3 separate regions of the Homo sapiens genome follow, and all the other regions are linked to region 3. Evidence: promoter capture Hi-C in 16 types of primary human blood cells and fetal thymus (Javierre and others, 2016). All regions are on one chromosome and are shown on one strand. The core of a region is centred on a gene start or on the middle of the fragment in contact, and the rest is flanking DNA. Distances in the headings are between cores, read along the strand shown. Region 1 has its middle 17 kb from the start of LINC00603. Region 2 has its middle 82 kb from the start of LINC00603. Region 3 holds the start of PTGER4 (prostaglandin E receptor 4).

Region 1 (4,918 bases), core at 314-2,813, 610 kb after region 3:
TAAGTCCAAAGTCTCATGTAAATCAGATATGAATAAGACTCAAGGCATGATTCATCCTGAGGAAAATATCCCTCCAGCTGTGAGCCTGTGAGATCAAACATTACATGTTTCCAAAACACAATGTTGAGACAGGCATAGGGTAAACATTCCCATTCCAAAAGGGAAAGATAGAACAAAAGAAGAAAAGAGTAATAGATCCCAAGTTAGTTGAATACTCAACAGGGCTAACAGCATTAAATCTTAAAGCTTGAAAATAATCTTCTTTCACTCCATGTCCCACCTTCTGGATATGCTAGAATGACAGTTGGGCCCCCAAGGCCTCAAGCAGCCCCATCCCATGGCTTTGCTGGGTGCAACCCTGGCTTCAACTGTCATGCATTGAAGGCATATGCCTATGGTGATCTTAGCCTGACACTACGTGCTGGTGGCTTTACAGTTAAAGATGTCTTTCTCAAGGATGGCCCTGCCCCCACATAGCCACTCAGCATTGCCCTAGTGAGAATTCTCTGCCATAGCACCACCCATGGGGCAGGTACCTGCCTGGGATTTAAGGCTGTCTGAGACATCTTTGAAATATAGGTAGAGGCAGCCATGCCTCCACAGCTCCGAACTCTACACACCTACAGAATTAGCACCACATGATCATTGCCAAAGCTCATTGTTTACACCTTCTGGAGTGGTGGTCCAGGCTGCACCTGGGCCAGCTTGAGCCATATCTAGGGTGCCCAAAGAGTGCTATGCCAGGATGCAGGGAACAGAGATCTAAGGAGGCCTTGGGAAGCTAGGTCCCACAGACACTGGACCCATCCCCTGAATCCTTTCTGACCCTAAGACCCTAGCATTCTGGGCTTGTGATAGGAATGGAAGCCTTGAAGATCTCAAAAACCCCTTTGAGGTCATGCTTCCATTGTCTTGATGAATAGCATCTGGATTCCTTCTAGCCGTACTAATCTTATCAAATGTTTGCTTAGCCATGCCCTTGATTTTCTCTCCTAAAATTGCCTTTTTATTCTTTACATGCCCAGGCTGAGAATTTTCCAAATCTGTACATTCTCCTTTCCCTTTAAGTATATATCCTGTCTTTAAATCATTTCTCTCTTTTTGCATTTTACTATAACCTGTTAAGAGAAGCCATGCAGCATCCTGAACACTTTTCTGCTTAGCGATTTCTTCTGTGAAATATTCTAGTTCATCGTTCTTAAGCTCTGTCTTCTGAAAAGTCCTAGAACATAGACACAATTCAGCCAAGTTCCTTTCCACTTTATAACAAAGATGACCTTTCCTCCAGTCTCCAGTACATTGTTCCTAATTTCCATCTGAGACCTCATCAGAATAATCTCCACTGCCACAACCAGTGAAGAAATCTCTCAAAAGACTGAGCTTTGCCCCACAGCTCTTCTTCTGAGCCTTGACTAGAATCATCCTTAATCTGTTTATGGCCATATAGGCTTTTTACATCATTCACTTCACAACTGTTTCAGCCTCTACCAATTATCCAGTCCCAAAGCCACTTCCACATTTTCAGGTGCTTGTTAGAGCAACACCTAGCTCCTTAGTACTAATTTCCATCTTAGTTCATTTGTGCTGCTATAACAGAGTACCACAAACTGGGCAATTTTTTAAAATAGGAAATTCATTTCTCACAGTTTTGGAGGCTGGAAAGAACAAAATCAATGTGTTGGCATCTGGTAAGGACTGTTTTGCCTTGTTCTCACGTGCAGAAGGCAGAAAGGTGAGAGAGAATCAAGTCCCTCCATGAAGCCCCTTAAAGGACACCTAATCCCATGTACAAGGGTAGATCCCTCCTGGCTTCATGCATTGACTTTGCCCTCTGGTTTGTTATCCTCCATTCATTCTTGTAGCTATCTAGTAACCTAGCCAATTGTTTTAGGGTATAGATGTAGCAGCAGAATCTGCTGCCATCTAAATGCTTTTTTGTGAATGAATACTTCAAGATTTAAAAGATTTTAAAAACATAACAAATTTTTAAAATGTCATGCCTTATAGGTCCCACCTCTTAATATTATCATGTTGGCAACACCCGAATTTTGGAGGGGACACATTCAAACCACAGTACCTACATATCAGGTAAGCACTGGGCTTATATCAGTGACTGTGATAGTTTTTTATTTTCATATAACTTGCATTTTTTTGGGGGGGAGCACTGATGGATAATAAATAGATAAAAATAAATAATCAAGTGACAAAATCATCAGGTAGTGATGTGTGCAATGAAAATAATTAAATAGGCAATATGATAATCAGTGTCAAGACATCTACATTGGTTGGATGGTTGAGAGAACCTTGCTGTTGAAGGTGACAGTGACCCGAGATCTGACTAACAAGCAGCAGCCAGCTGGGAAAAAAAACTGGGGACAGGCATCTCTACCATCAGAGAGTATGGCTAGAGCAAAGGCTCTTGTGGAGCAATAAACTTGGTGGTTTGGAGGAAACAAAGAAGGCCAAGGTGGCTGGAAAAGAGAGAGTAAAGTAAGGAGTATAAGAGAGGAGGCCAAAGAAAGAAAAATGGGCCATATTATGTGGTGCTCTGTGAGCTAGGATAAGGAAGTTTCATATTCCTATAGAATGGGAAACTATTGGAAGGATTTAAGCAGATGATACACAAATAAGTACTATGTTTTGTTTACAATATCAACGTATGCTATTTTGTATGGTGATTAAAAATACAAGTTTGTTAAGGAGTATAGCACTAAGATCTTGCTTGGGAGTAGAGGGTTGTTGTCTGTTTACATAAGGTCTAGTTGAGCAGGGGATTTAAAATTAAAGCCAGATTCCTCTTTTTCCTAGTTGGTTGTAGAGACAGCTTCCTTTGTTTTACCAACAGTTGGGTGCCTGATACTGACACACCACAGAAGCTTGATGCGGATTTTTCTCCTGGCTTCAGGAGAGATAGCTCCACTGTCACATCATGCATGAAAGTCCAGACTCTGCTGTGCACAGGAAGGGTTCTGCAATAAAGCTGTGGATATAACTCTGGCTTGTTATCCTCCATTCATTTTTGTGGATATATAGCAACCTAGCCAGTCATTTCAGGGGATAGACATAGCAGCAGCATCTGCTACCATCCAAAGCCTGAATCTTTTGTGAATGACTACTTCGTGATTGAAAAATTTTTTAAAAAGATTCAGTGGCACTTTGAACTACTATTGGGCTGATAATGTTTTTGTTGTTTTTGTTTGTTTGTTTGTTTGTTTGTTTGTTGAGATGGAGTCTCGCTCTGTTTCCCAGGCTGGAGTGCAGTTGTCGCCTAGGCTGAAGTGCAGTGGCAGGATATCAGCTCACTGCAAGCTCCACCTCCAGGGTTCAAACCATTCTCCTGCCTCAGCCTCCCAGTAGCTGGGACTACAGGCGCCCGCCACCACCCCCGGCTAATTTTTTGTATTTTTAGTAGAGACAGGGTTTCGCCATGAGCTGATAATTTCTTAAACCTCAACAAAATATTATCTTCGGAATTTTTATAATTCATACTATTTAGCTTTTGCTATGTGTTTTGTTATCAACCAAAGAATTATATGGGCTTATACATTCATGTGTTTGACTTATAAGTACTCTTCACTATTAGCTTTAAAAAATGTGCAGTGCCCATAGTCCCTGGGACTAGTGAAAAACATAATAAGGTAAAGAGAAGAGAGTGTTAGTAATAACTTATGATCCTGTGTACTATACACAAGGGCCTTTTGTGTAGGAATTTGCCTACAAGGTCACCAGCACTGTGTTATAGCACTTTCTTTTCTGGGCACTGAAGAGAGCTGAGTATCCTAGATGTTCTCAATGGTGATTAACACCAGGTAAGAGTAGAGAGGGCTCTTATTCTGAATTCTCTGTAGATCTCCTATCTTTTTTCACAGATGAAAAATAATGAGTTGTACAAGATACTGTTCTGTTTCTTTGCATGAGACATACTCTCGTTTGCTTTCCATATCTCTGAGGGCTCATTGCAAGGAAGATGCCCCAAAACTTTTTGGTGACTATTTGTCATACCACTATTGTGAAGAATTTTCCTCGTTTAAATTCTCCCCTAAATTTGGAGCTCAGCCAGCAGGAAATGGACTACTTTAGGGTTTCTAAATGTGATTAGAGGTCTGGAACCCAGAGGCAGAGAAAATTATGTAGGAGTCTGTACTTCCCTTGGACGTGCATAGATCTTTTAATTTTTTAAAAAATGATTTAGTATTTTTAAGGCTTGATATTTTATTAAAATTATACAATATTTTATTAAAAATCACATAAAATTTATTTTATAAAAATGAATGTAAACTATTAAAGCAAATTGCTATGTAGCTATATGGAATAATGAAGCAGAAGTAAAATTAAGGGAACTTTGGTCAGAATGAAAAGAGTCATTTTCATCACACTAGAATGCAGCTGGCACAGAAGAATGTTGTGGGTCTAAAGGAGAGTTTGGTGAGGCTTATTCACAAATTAACAGATCTTGGTCAAATAATTTCAATAATAGCCTTTGATTAGTTCAGATGTTAAAACTTTTTAAAATATCTTTCAATTATCTATTTTAAATTATTTATGATTCTCATTTTCTGATCTTATCTGTGAATGCAAAGAACCAAAGATGTTAAAAATTAAGTTTTGCTATATTGTATAGACATTGTGAAGGACAGTTATGTTAAGAATAGATGACTTCTGATTTTCTGTTTCTTTTGCTTATTAATCCATAATACTATTCAAGCATAACTAGTTTATAACTTAAAAAGAATATGCTTCTTCTTAGCCTTGGGACTCTCAAATATAGTTATGTACACACTCTTTCTGTATATGTGCATCTAATTGAGTTCTTTCAACTCTAGTACATTAAATATACATGAAATTAACAAGGTGGCAAAACAAGCAAGAGAATCTGTTTAAAAAATTAGAGTCCAAACATAAAGCAATGTAAAGTAAT
Region 2 (4,915 bases), core at 1,586-4,085, 550 kb after region 3:
TTCCCACTTCAGCATGATGGATAATTCTTCATATTGGATAATTCTTATAGAGAGGAGCTGTCTTGTGCATTGGAGGATATCAAGATCTCTGTATTTTAACCTATTATTTGCCAGTGGCACTTCATTTTACCCCAAAGGAGACTCTCAAACATGTCTTCAGACATTGCCAAATGTCCTCTGCAGGGTGATAATCTTCTCCATTGGGAACCTTTGTGTTAGGGCAATTTTAATCTGCAATGAAAGGTTACACATACCTTTTGTTTCTCAGCTGGTTTTATGATTGAGAAACAATACAAGACAATTCAAGCGAATTGCTACTCATTTATTATTAAAGATAATTGATGATATGTACTTTTGGGAAGATGGTGTCCTAGTACAGCACTTTCGCTAATGTCTACTATATATAAATGAACCTCATGAAAACGTATTACACTATGACAAAAACTTGCATCCCCAAACCAACTATATTCTAACTTCTCACGAGCAGCTGTGAACTCAAACATGAGCAAAGGTAAACAATTTTGATAGACCTCTAGCTAGGATTCTCATCTTTTATATTCTGACTAACTCCTTTCTGAAGAATTTCCTTGACTCTTCTGGATTTTATTGTACTTTTTCTTACTGTAATTAACACCTGGGCCTTGGGCATTGATTAGATATTGCCTTATATGATTTGCTAATAGTACAATAAATGTGAGAGGTGCTTCCCAGTGGGATTACAAGCTCTCTGAGGGCAACATACTTCTCTTTTATCTTTCACAACATCCAGTACAGTGTCATCGTCATTAATACTGAGTATAATTGTTGGAGTCAAACAGATGTGGGCTCTACTCAGGGTTCTATCAACCCAAGGCTGGGTAAATTTGCACAATTCAGTTTCCCCAAGTAGAGTAGCCACATGTTTGAGTTCTATACCTAACTTCCATGCATTTGAAACAACTCTTTAATTAGAATTCAACTTCTTATCTAATTTTCCAACTTGCTTAGACAGAAAGAATACAGTGATGATGCTAACTTGGTTGTCAAGATCCATAACTGATACAAAATTTATTGTGAATTAATATTTAAGCACCCTAAATTTGTACATCCATATCTTGTGAGCCTATTTCATATAATACAGTGTTTAAAGTGGCATATTAAATGCTTATAGGTTTATTAATCTGAAAAATCAAGAGAATTGAATTAGCCTTTCTCTGAATGTGAAATTTCTCTGAATGTGAAATTTTCAGAGCTGCAATTCTGAAAATCCATTCCTTTGTATTTCAAAAGACATTTAATATTCAGTAAAATATGAAAATGATAATTTCAAATTGGTACCTAAACCTATTACATTAATAAATATAGTTTTGAGAAGAAACATTAGCAGAATTGCATATTGATAATGTAACTCCTTATTTGACTTATGATTTTCCTTGTTACTTTAATAACAGTCATGCCTTATTTTGGGGCCACCATGTAGCCAGACTTTGAGTTCAGTCAGTTTTTGTGGCCTCCTCAATGTCATGCAGAAGTAAAAGCTGTGCTGATATTTGCAGTGATAGCACAGCATGTCTTTATTAACATCATCAATAAAAACAATAATTCCCTCAGTACTTACTGTGTGTCAGCTTCTACCCTAAACTCTCATAAATCACTTCATCAAATTTTCAAAACAACTATATGAGGTAGATATTGTCTGACTGTGCAAATAAAAAAACGAAAACATAGGAATGTGAGAAAACTTGCAAAACATCACAGTTAATGCCAGCACCCTAGAGTTGGGTTCTTTCAGTTTACCCAGCCATATTTCATAACATCAACTCCTTAGACTTCTAGGTCATGGGAAAATGCACTGGCTGTAGCTTGTAGAAAGTAACACAGTTTAAAAATGACTTATTGGCCATTTCTGACCTTTGCCCAAGCTTGCTTTTATCAGAAATTTCTTATTTTCTTTCCCTATCTAATGAATACTTTCTTCACATTAGAAAAATAAATCTAAAATGATGTGACCTGAGGTGGCTTCCTGGCAAGGCCTTCCAAACTGCGCTCCAGTGTTCTCTAAAATCTCCATGGAAGTGATTCAGTAGCCACTGGGATTAAGGGGCAAGAAGAGGAAAGTCAGGGAATCGGGTTACTCCTGTCCAGTACCCTTAAATAGCTTCACTTCTCTCTGTTTCAAATAGTAAAACTATCTATCTATCTATCTATCATCTACCTATCTGTCATTTGGGGAGAAAATAGCTATTTTTTTAAAAAGTTTCAAAGCCACTTCTCTTATTGACCTCTGCTTTTAACAGAGAAAGCTGAGGCCTATGGAATTTAGGCAATTGGCCCCAAATCTCACAGTTTGTTGGACGTCTCCTAACTTCATATCCAACCAATTTTGTCACCCCATACTGTTGGTCTAAAGGAGTATAGTGTAAGTGTGTTGTATGTGGCCCACTAGACCCTAGGCTGTCACTCTGCAGGCCTTCTCTGGGGTGACTGCTGATTCACCTAACCTCCATCTCTGCTGGAACAGTAGAGGCCCCTGGAGCTTGCTCTTAGGCTCAGCTTCTGCTTGCATGGGCCTGACATATGTTCTTTGTTCATTTTCTTTCTTGTCCACCTTCACTGATCTTTTTGACTTTCAACAAATTAGAAAAAAATAGATACCCACCCAGAGAACTAAGTTCTCCACGGGACAGGTTATATATGATTCAGCACCAACATATTTCTTTTTTTGAAAAATTTACTTGATAATTGACAGCAAACTTCTTAATCAGGAAAGGCTCCCATGGCTGGGTTTGAAATCATCTCTTTCTCAGTGATTTGAAAGTTTCAATAAAGAAAGAGTTTTGCTACATTTGACTGTGACACCAGTAAAGGAGGTAGACATTACAGACTCTGAGGAAAAGGGGAGGTGATAGGCAGCTGAAAGAAGAAGGAAGTGCAGCTGGCCGAATCCTTTGTCCTGGGAAATGCAGCACATAACACATTCTGCTACATCATCATAAGGGGTATTTGATATTTATAAGATTTTTATAGTTTGGAGACGAGCATGCTTTCAGAGTTTGAACTGTGTATTCTTTAAATTTATGGTATTCACTAACACAAGTTTAGATTTCAATTGAGGGAAAAATCATTCTGAGAAAAGAAAGATTTACAGAGAATGATGGCTTATAGTTTATTTCAGGGAATTTCCCAAAGATATTTATGTTACTACTTGATTGATAACAATATTTTCCTCTCCAACAATATTTTCAAATTAGAAATAGTAGTTTTCAGGATTGCAGTTATTAAGCTGAACATTGCGTGTGTGTGAGAGGGAGAAGTTCTTGAGTTTTAATCCTTTCTTGATTTCACTGTTACAAATTACTTTATGATTGATACTCACAGATTAAAAGATCAACTAGTCCAAAGAGTAATTTATTCTATAAATGAGATCAGATGGTGTATCTTGAGTAGCCAATTATTCTCAAGAGCCGTTGTCTCAATATTATGAACTGAATGTTTTTGTCCTCAAAAAATTCATATGCAAAAATCTTAACCCCCAATGTGATTATATTAGAGAGTGGGGTCTTTGGGAAGTCTAAAACAAAACTGAAATTCTAAGTCCCCCAACCATCGGAATGGATCCTCCCTCTTGGCAAGGGCATTCCAAAACTAACCTAAAATACTAGTTCAAGCCATGATGGAAAGGAGAGTTGAACATGCCTCAGTATATTCCCCTCCCTTTTGGAATTACTAATAGAACAGAATCCTTGAGTCTCATAAGAAATAGTTACAATCTATTTTCTCTGAAGCTTGCTACCTGGAAGCTTCACCTGCATAATAAAACCATAGTCTCCACAAACCCTTATTGTAACCCAGACATTCCTTTCTATTGATAGTAACTCTTTCAATCAATTGTCAATCAGAGGATTTTTTAATCTGCCTATGACTTGGAAGCCCCCACTTCCAGTTGTTCTGCCTTGTCAGACTAAACCAATGTCCCTCTTACATGGATTGACTGATGTCTCGTGTCTTCCCAAAATATATAAAACCAAGCTGTACCCCAACCACCGTGAGCACATGTTCTCAGGATCTCCTGAGAGCTGTGTCATGGGCCATTGGTCACTCACATTTGGCTCAGAATAAATCTCTTCAAGTATTTCACACAGTTTGACTCTTTTCCTTGACAATAATTTGGCACCAAACATATGGGGTCTTAGGCAAGACTCAGGTCTCCAAATTTGTAACTAAGGTACCAGCAGGGACCCACTGAAAGCCCTCCCTGACTTTGAGCTTCTCCTCTGGTGGAACTGGTAAGTTCTCCTGAGCCCTGGCCCCCCCGTTGGTTGAGAGTCCTTCATTTATTCTGAGCTATTGTTTTCTTTTTTTGCTCCTAGGAAGTAGTTGTTTGGGATCCTAATTCTAGTTCAGAGGTGCATTCTAAAGGTTCTTCTCCATTGCTTTTTCTCACAGGGAACCCCCAACAAAATTAGTTATAAAGGCTTGTTCAGGAAACACATTTAAGAGCTGATCACTTAATGTTTTGAGCCCTCTCTGAGGTTCTAGATGTCCTAAGAGAGAAACTGAGACACATAAGACAGGTGAAACACTCAGTGGTGACACACTATGAAGTCCCACCTACAATCAGCACACTTGTACCTCTATAATAAACCCTAGGCCATAGCTCAGTACCTCCAAAAAAGAAAGAAAGAAAGAAAGAAAGAAAGAAAGAAAGAAAGAAAGAAAGAAAGAAAGAGAAAAAAGAAAAGGAGAAACGTAAAGAAATGGGGAACAAATATACCTTTCAGGTATCCCATTGGTTTTATGGCACCTCTACTTACAAGTGTTTGTATAAAAGGGACATATAATGGTATTTTGTGCATATTTTAAACTGATGGACAAATTGCTGCAAGAAAAAATTCAGAGCCCAAATGTTGACCTGCAACTTTAGAGTTTCTCGTTT
Region 3 (4,871 bases), core at 1,953-4,452:
AGTTGGTAGTTTAGAATTTCCAGGAATGCAGTGTTTTGGAAGATGGAAGAACTCATAACTAGTTGCTTTCAAGAGAAACTCTAGATAAAGTATTGCATTATTCTGCCCATCTGCTTCTGGTGCATTCCATTTTAGCCACAGGCAAAGTAGAAAACTAGGTAGGGTTTGAGCCTTTCTGTTTATCATATTTTAAAAGTTAATCCAAAGGCAATTCTTAAAAGATGAACTAAAAATGAAGTGTACCAAAACTCCAACCCACGCTTTACAAACGCCAAAATGAGAAATGTTCTACGAGGGAGACGTGATGTAATAACACATGAGCTGGGTCTGGCCTCAGACGGCCTAAGGTCCATTACAAGCTGTAGAGCTTTGGCTTGAAGAAACAAAGACAGCCATCTCTAAACCTCGGTTTCTCTAAAATGGTACTGTACCTCGCACAGTTGTCGAGAATTCAAATCCCATACCCTATGTATATCAGCCTGTCCATAATTAGTCACCCTGAGAAACTTTGCTTTCCTGGTCTAGACAGAATGAAAGAAACTGAGTCTGGACCCTGCCCTGTATATGAATTAGAATTTGTGTGCTTTAAGCTGCCCTCCCAGGGCACACCATGGTAAAGAGCAGGGAGCCTAGCTTGACTGTGTAGGTTCGGCTGGATTATTTTAAGCGTATCATTCACTCCCTCAGTGAAGTGAGGGAGTTAGACTAAAACACCTCTTGATATCTCTTCTAGCTTTAAAATTCTACGCAATCCACGGGGGAAGAAATTCAAGAAACCTTGCATACATCAAAACACCAAAAACCCCACTTTCCTTAAAAATGGTTTACAACGAACAGATCACCATCCCTGACATTTCAGGTTTTGCAGTTCACAGTTCACAGTACGGAGGAATGGGCTAAGTCACACTACAGCAGGCTCCCCTCCACGTCTAACAGAGGGGGCGGGGGGTTTTCTTGGAAGACTCGGCCAGTGTCAGGCAGCAAGGGGTAAGGGCTGTCTCGGTGGAGAAAGAAACCCAGGCTTCCGGGAACATAAACTGGGGGATGTAGGGGCAAAGCACCTGCTAAATCTCGTTAGGGTTGGGACTTCAAAGAGGGTTGGGCCTGCTCTGAGAAACAGTGTGGGAATCCCAGCCCCGACCTAAAGGCGACACGTTCACTGCCAAGGACTCAGAGGGAAAGCAGGGAGCGGGGAATGGACGCGGGAGGTGGATGCGAGAAAAAGGCCGAGTAGGGCCCCAGCCCCGGTCACTCACCACGAGCGGGATGGAGCAGATGAGCACCACCAGGGAGGTGGCAATGAGTAAGATGACCATCTGGATCTCGGCGCCCGCGATGCGGCGGAAGCTCCGGCGGCGCCGAAAGTCGCTGAGGCGCGGCAAGGCTGGGGAGGCAGCGGGGTGGCCCCGGGAGGCAACCGAGGCGGCCGCGGCCGCGTGGTGCTGCTCGGTGCCCAGCGAGGTGCGGCGCATGAACTGGCGGTGCATGCGGAGCAGCGCGCCGCACACAAGCACGTTGCAGAGGACGGTGGCGAGAATGAGGAAGGAGCTGAAGCCCGCGTACATGTAGGAGTAGGCGGCGTGCGCCGTCACGTTGGTGGTCCAGTCGATGAAGCACCAGGTGTCTGGGTACTGCAGCCGCGAGCTACCGAGACCCATGTTGGGCAGCGCGCAAAAGAGCACGTTGGACGCATAGACTGCAAAGAGCGTGAGGCCCGCCAATCGCTTGTCCACGTAGTGGCTGTAGAAATAGGCATGGTTGATGGCCAGGTAGCGCTCGACACTCATGGCGCAGATGATGCTGAGGCCGGACAGGCTGAAGAAGAGCAGAATGAAGGTGCTGTACTCGCACAGCGGCTGGCCCCCGGGCCATTGGCCCTTCATGTACGTGGCGATGGTCACCGGGCTCACCAACAAAGTGCCCAACAGGTCGGTGACAGCCAGCCCACATACCAGCGTGTAGAAGGTCGTCTCCTTCTGCTCCTTGCGCGACTTGCACAGCACCACGATGGCCACCAGGTTGCCCACCACCCCGAAGATGAACATCACCGCCGGGATGGTCACTGGGCTGTTCAGCCGGTCGGGGCTCAAGGAGGCGGACGAATTGACCCCGGGAGTGGACATGATAGTGGCTGGCGGTGCGCAGCCTTGGAGTGCAAGGCTGGGTCTGGGGATGGTAGAAGAGAGACAAAGCTGCCGTGAGCGGAAATTACCACTTGTAAGGTGTTAGACCCGCGCCCGAGAAACGATACACTGATAAGACAAGGGGAGCAACTCGATCCTACTTTCTGGATTGTAGCCACTTACCAACTGCGGCCACCAAAATCTCCAGGCTCGCGATACGTCCTGCCAACAGCACACTCTTGCTGACATTAATATTTATAAACTGATTTTCCCATTCCTCTTCCTCCCCACAATCCAACTCACTCCATTGCCAAGATGAATAAGACCCATCTCAAGGGAAAAGTAGCTCGCTAGTGCTATTCTCGATAGATTCTGAATCAATAAAATGCTCACTGAAAACAAGTTACAAAAGCAATTTGGAGAGCGCGCTCTTCCCTTCTTGGCTCTCTTCGGCGAGGGCCGCATCCCTGCGTTCTCTACCCGTTGACCCCAACGTCAGCCCAACGCCATCTCACCTGTAGCGGCAGCAGCGGTGGCAGCCTCACGAGCCCCCAGGGTCAGCCCTCAGATGTCCTGGACCCGCCTCCAACCTGCTTTCACCTTGTCCTGCTCAGTCTGGAAACTGCCAAATCTTCGGCTTCTCAAAGCCGGTCTCAGTGGCTGTCGATTTTTGGACACCGAGGTCAGAGTTGCCAGCTTTCAAAAACTTGGGAAACAAGAGGTGCAGCGGGATGGGTCAGTGAAGAATGGTGCTGGATTTCTTACTCGCTATTTTTTTTCCTTCAAAGACGAGTCCCAGCTTTGCAGTGCCCGCCGGTCTCGTCTGCGGGAGGACAGCGTTCAGGTGTGAGGCTGTGCGCGCAGGTGGCGCGGAGCCTTGGTCCCCAGCTCTGGCTGCCCTCCGCCCCAGCCACGGGCAGCACGGGCGGCTACTGGAGTTTGCGGCTGCCGCTGAGGCCGCTCCTGGCTACCTGGGGGCGGCTCGGGGTCCACTCTGCCAGAGGCTCTGGCCTGGGGCTGTTCATCTTCCTCTCGGGCTGCCGGGCTTGGAGCTCCGCTCTCGCCTTTCCACCCTCTGTACAAACTTTTCTCCTCCTCCAAGTTTCCCTGGCGGAGGCGGAGGCAAACCGCGCGCTGCCCGGGCGCCCATTGGCCGGATTGGAAGGGGGCGGAGCGCGTCCTCCCTGGGCGCCGCAGGGAAGACTGGCGGGGGGCGGTGTCTGGGCTGGGGCGGGGCTGGGCGCGCGGGGTGGGGCGGCTCCCGTGGTTTTCACGCCCTCGGAGGTGCGGAGTGGGAACTCGGAGGGGACCCTGGGAAGCCCCGGTGCTTTCCCCGGCGACCGCTTAGCCGCTCCTGAACTCGGCTTCCAGTGGGGCCACCACTGAAACCGGCGACCGTTTCCGCCTCGCTGCCTGCCGCTCGGAGTGTACTATTTCTTGAACCTCCTGTCCGCGGGCCGCAACATCTAGATCGTGGAAGAGAGGGCAGTTGTTTTAGGATTCTACCTAGGGTTGGCCGAGAAAGGAGAAGAAATACGGTGTCTGCGCTAGCGCGTGCGCCCCGGGGTTAGACTTGGGTGCGCCCAGCGGACGTGGTAGGTGGGTGGGTGGGTGGGTACCAGATTGGGCGGGGAAATAACGAAGAATCCATCCTCTCACCATAAAAGGAGTTGGAGTCAGTTGGCAGTGCCCAGACTGCGGGCTGCGCTTGGTCGGGCACCCCAGGCAAAAAAGAAAAAAAAAAAAGAGAAAGAAAGAGGAGGAGACAGTGATTGCAGCCTCTCCCGGCGCAGGTGGCAGAGCCTTGCGGCTTTGGAGAGAGGTGGAGCCTTGGTGAGGTTGGGAGGACTGCCTAACTGCGATCTTTTTCTCCATTCTTCCTCCTGGGAACTTCTCCGCCCTGAAAGGGTAGCGTGAGCTTCATGCCTTCGGCCGGCCGTGTTATACTCGTTAGACCCAATTCACCATGAATCCTTTGAAAGACTAGTGGAGAGTGAGAAGGGGGTTTCAAAGTCACTGGAGTAAAGGAATTCTCCAAGCACCACCTCATGATTAATTCTTGGAAAAGCCTGTTTGCGCGGCCCTTAGAATCATTTTGACTTCTTGTCTAATGGTGAAGTTTTTCTCTGTAATCCTTCTACTCTGTTTTCTAAAACCAGAACTAAAAACCTAAAAAATTGTAAAACTTCATGGTGTAATTAAAACCCCTTCACCATTTTTTTTAAGTAAGATTGTGTGGCCTTATTGCACAATTTAAATTCCTGGAAAAACCTCTTCCCATCTGCAGTGTACAAGCATTCTAACATATTATGTCTCCTCACAGGGTAAGTAAATAACTGGATTCTTTTATGTGATAAGCAGGTACCCATTTCTTAAATGTTATTTCGTGAACGAACAAACCTCCTAACTGGTTCTTCAGTTAGTCTCAGCAACACATGGGTAATAAGAGAAACTAAAAGGGCTTTCCGATTTCAAGTAATTACAGGTCATAAAATATCCAGAATCATATTTACTTGCAAAAGGCACTATATGGATATACTAATAAAGAATTATTCTGTTTATACTATTTACTTAATAATATGAGAAAGAAAAATACACATTTGTTAGCCAATATTAAGATTGATGGTGATTGGTCATTTTCTTAAAAATCTTCTTTTAATCAGTACTCTAATCACTTCTGTTGTCGATGCTTCCTTTGAACAGTAACCTCTAGGATTGTGTCAGCACAGAAAACAAATCAACATTAGA

The links. The method cuts DNA at HindIII sites, captures the fragments that hold promoters and counts their contacts. A CHiCAGO score of 5 or more calls a contact.
Region 1: a contact is called between a fragment that was not itself captured here and the fragment with the promoter of PTGER4 in region 3, in 3 of 17 cell types (total CD8 T cells, naive B cells and total B cells). The highest score is 7.1, in total CD8 T cells.
Region 2: a fragment that was not itself captured here is called in contact with the fragment with the promoter of PTGER4 in region 3 in 1 of 17 cell types (total B cells); the score reaches 5.5 in total B cells.

Annotation. Positions count from the first base shown.
Region 1 is chr5:40,067,221-40,072,138 of GRCh38, reverse strand. No RefSeq gene overlaps it. Among named protein-coding and RNA genes, the nearest start is that of LINC00603, 17 kb to the right of the region's middle. The HindIII fragment of the contact is 2,630 bases long and covers 249-2,878 here.
Region 2 is chr5:40,132,188-40,137,102 of GRCh38, reverse strand. No RefSeq gene overlaps it. Among named protein-coding and RNA genes, the nearest start is that of LINC00603, 82 kb to the right of the region's middle. The HindIII fragment of the contact is 1,863 bases long and covers 1,904-3,766 here.
Region 3 is chr5:40,678,246-40,683,116 of GRCh38, reverse strand. It overlaps PTGER4 (prostaglandin E receptor 4), which reads right to left and starts at 3,202. Exons shown (of 3, transcript NM_000958.3): 1 at 2,639-3,202; 2 at 1,257-2,166. The coding sequence starts at 2,123. RefSeq lists an enhancer at 1,657-2,184 and a silencer at 3,320-3,539. The HindIII fragment of the contact is 6,362 bases long and covers 1-4,871 here.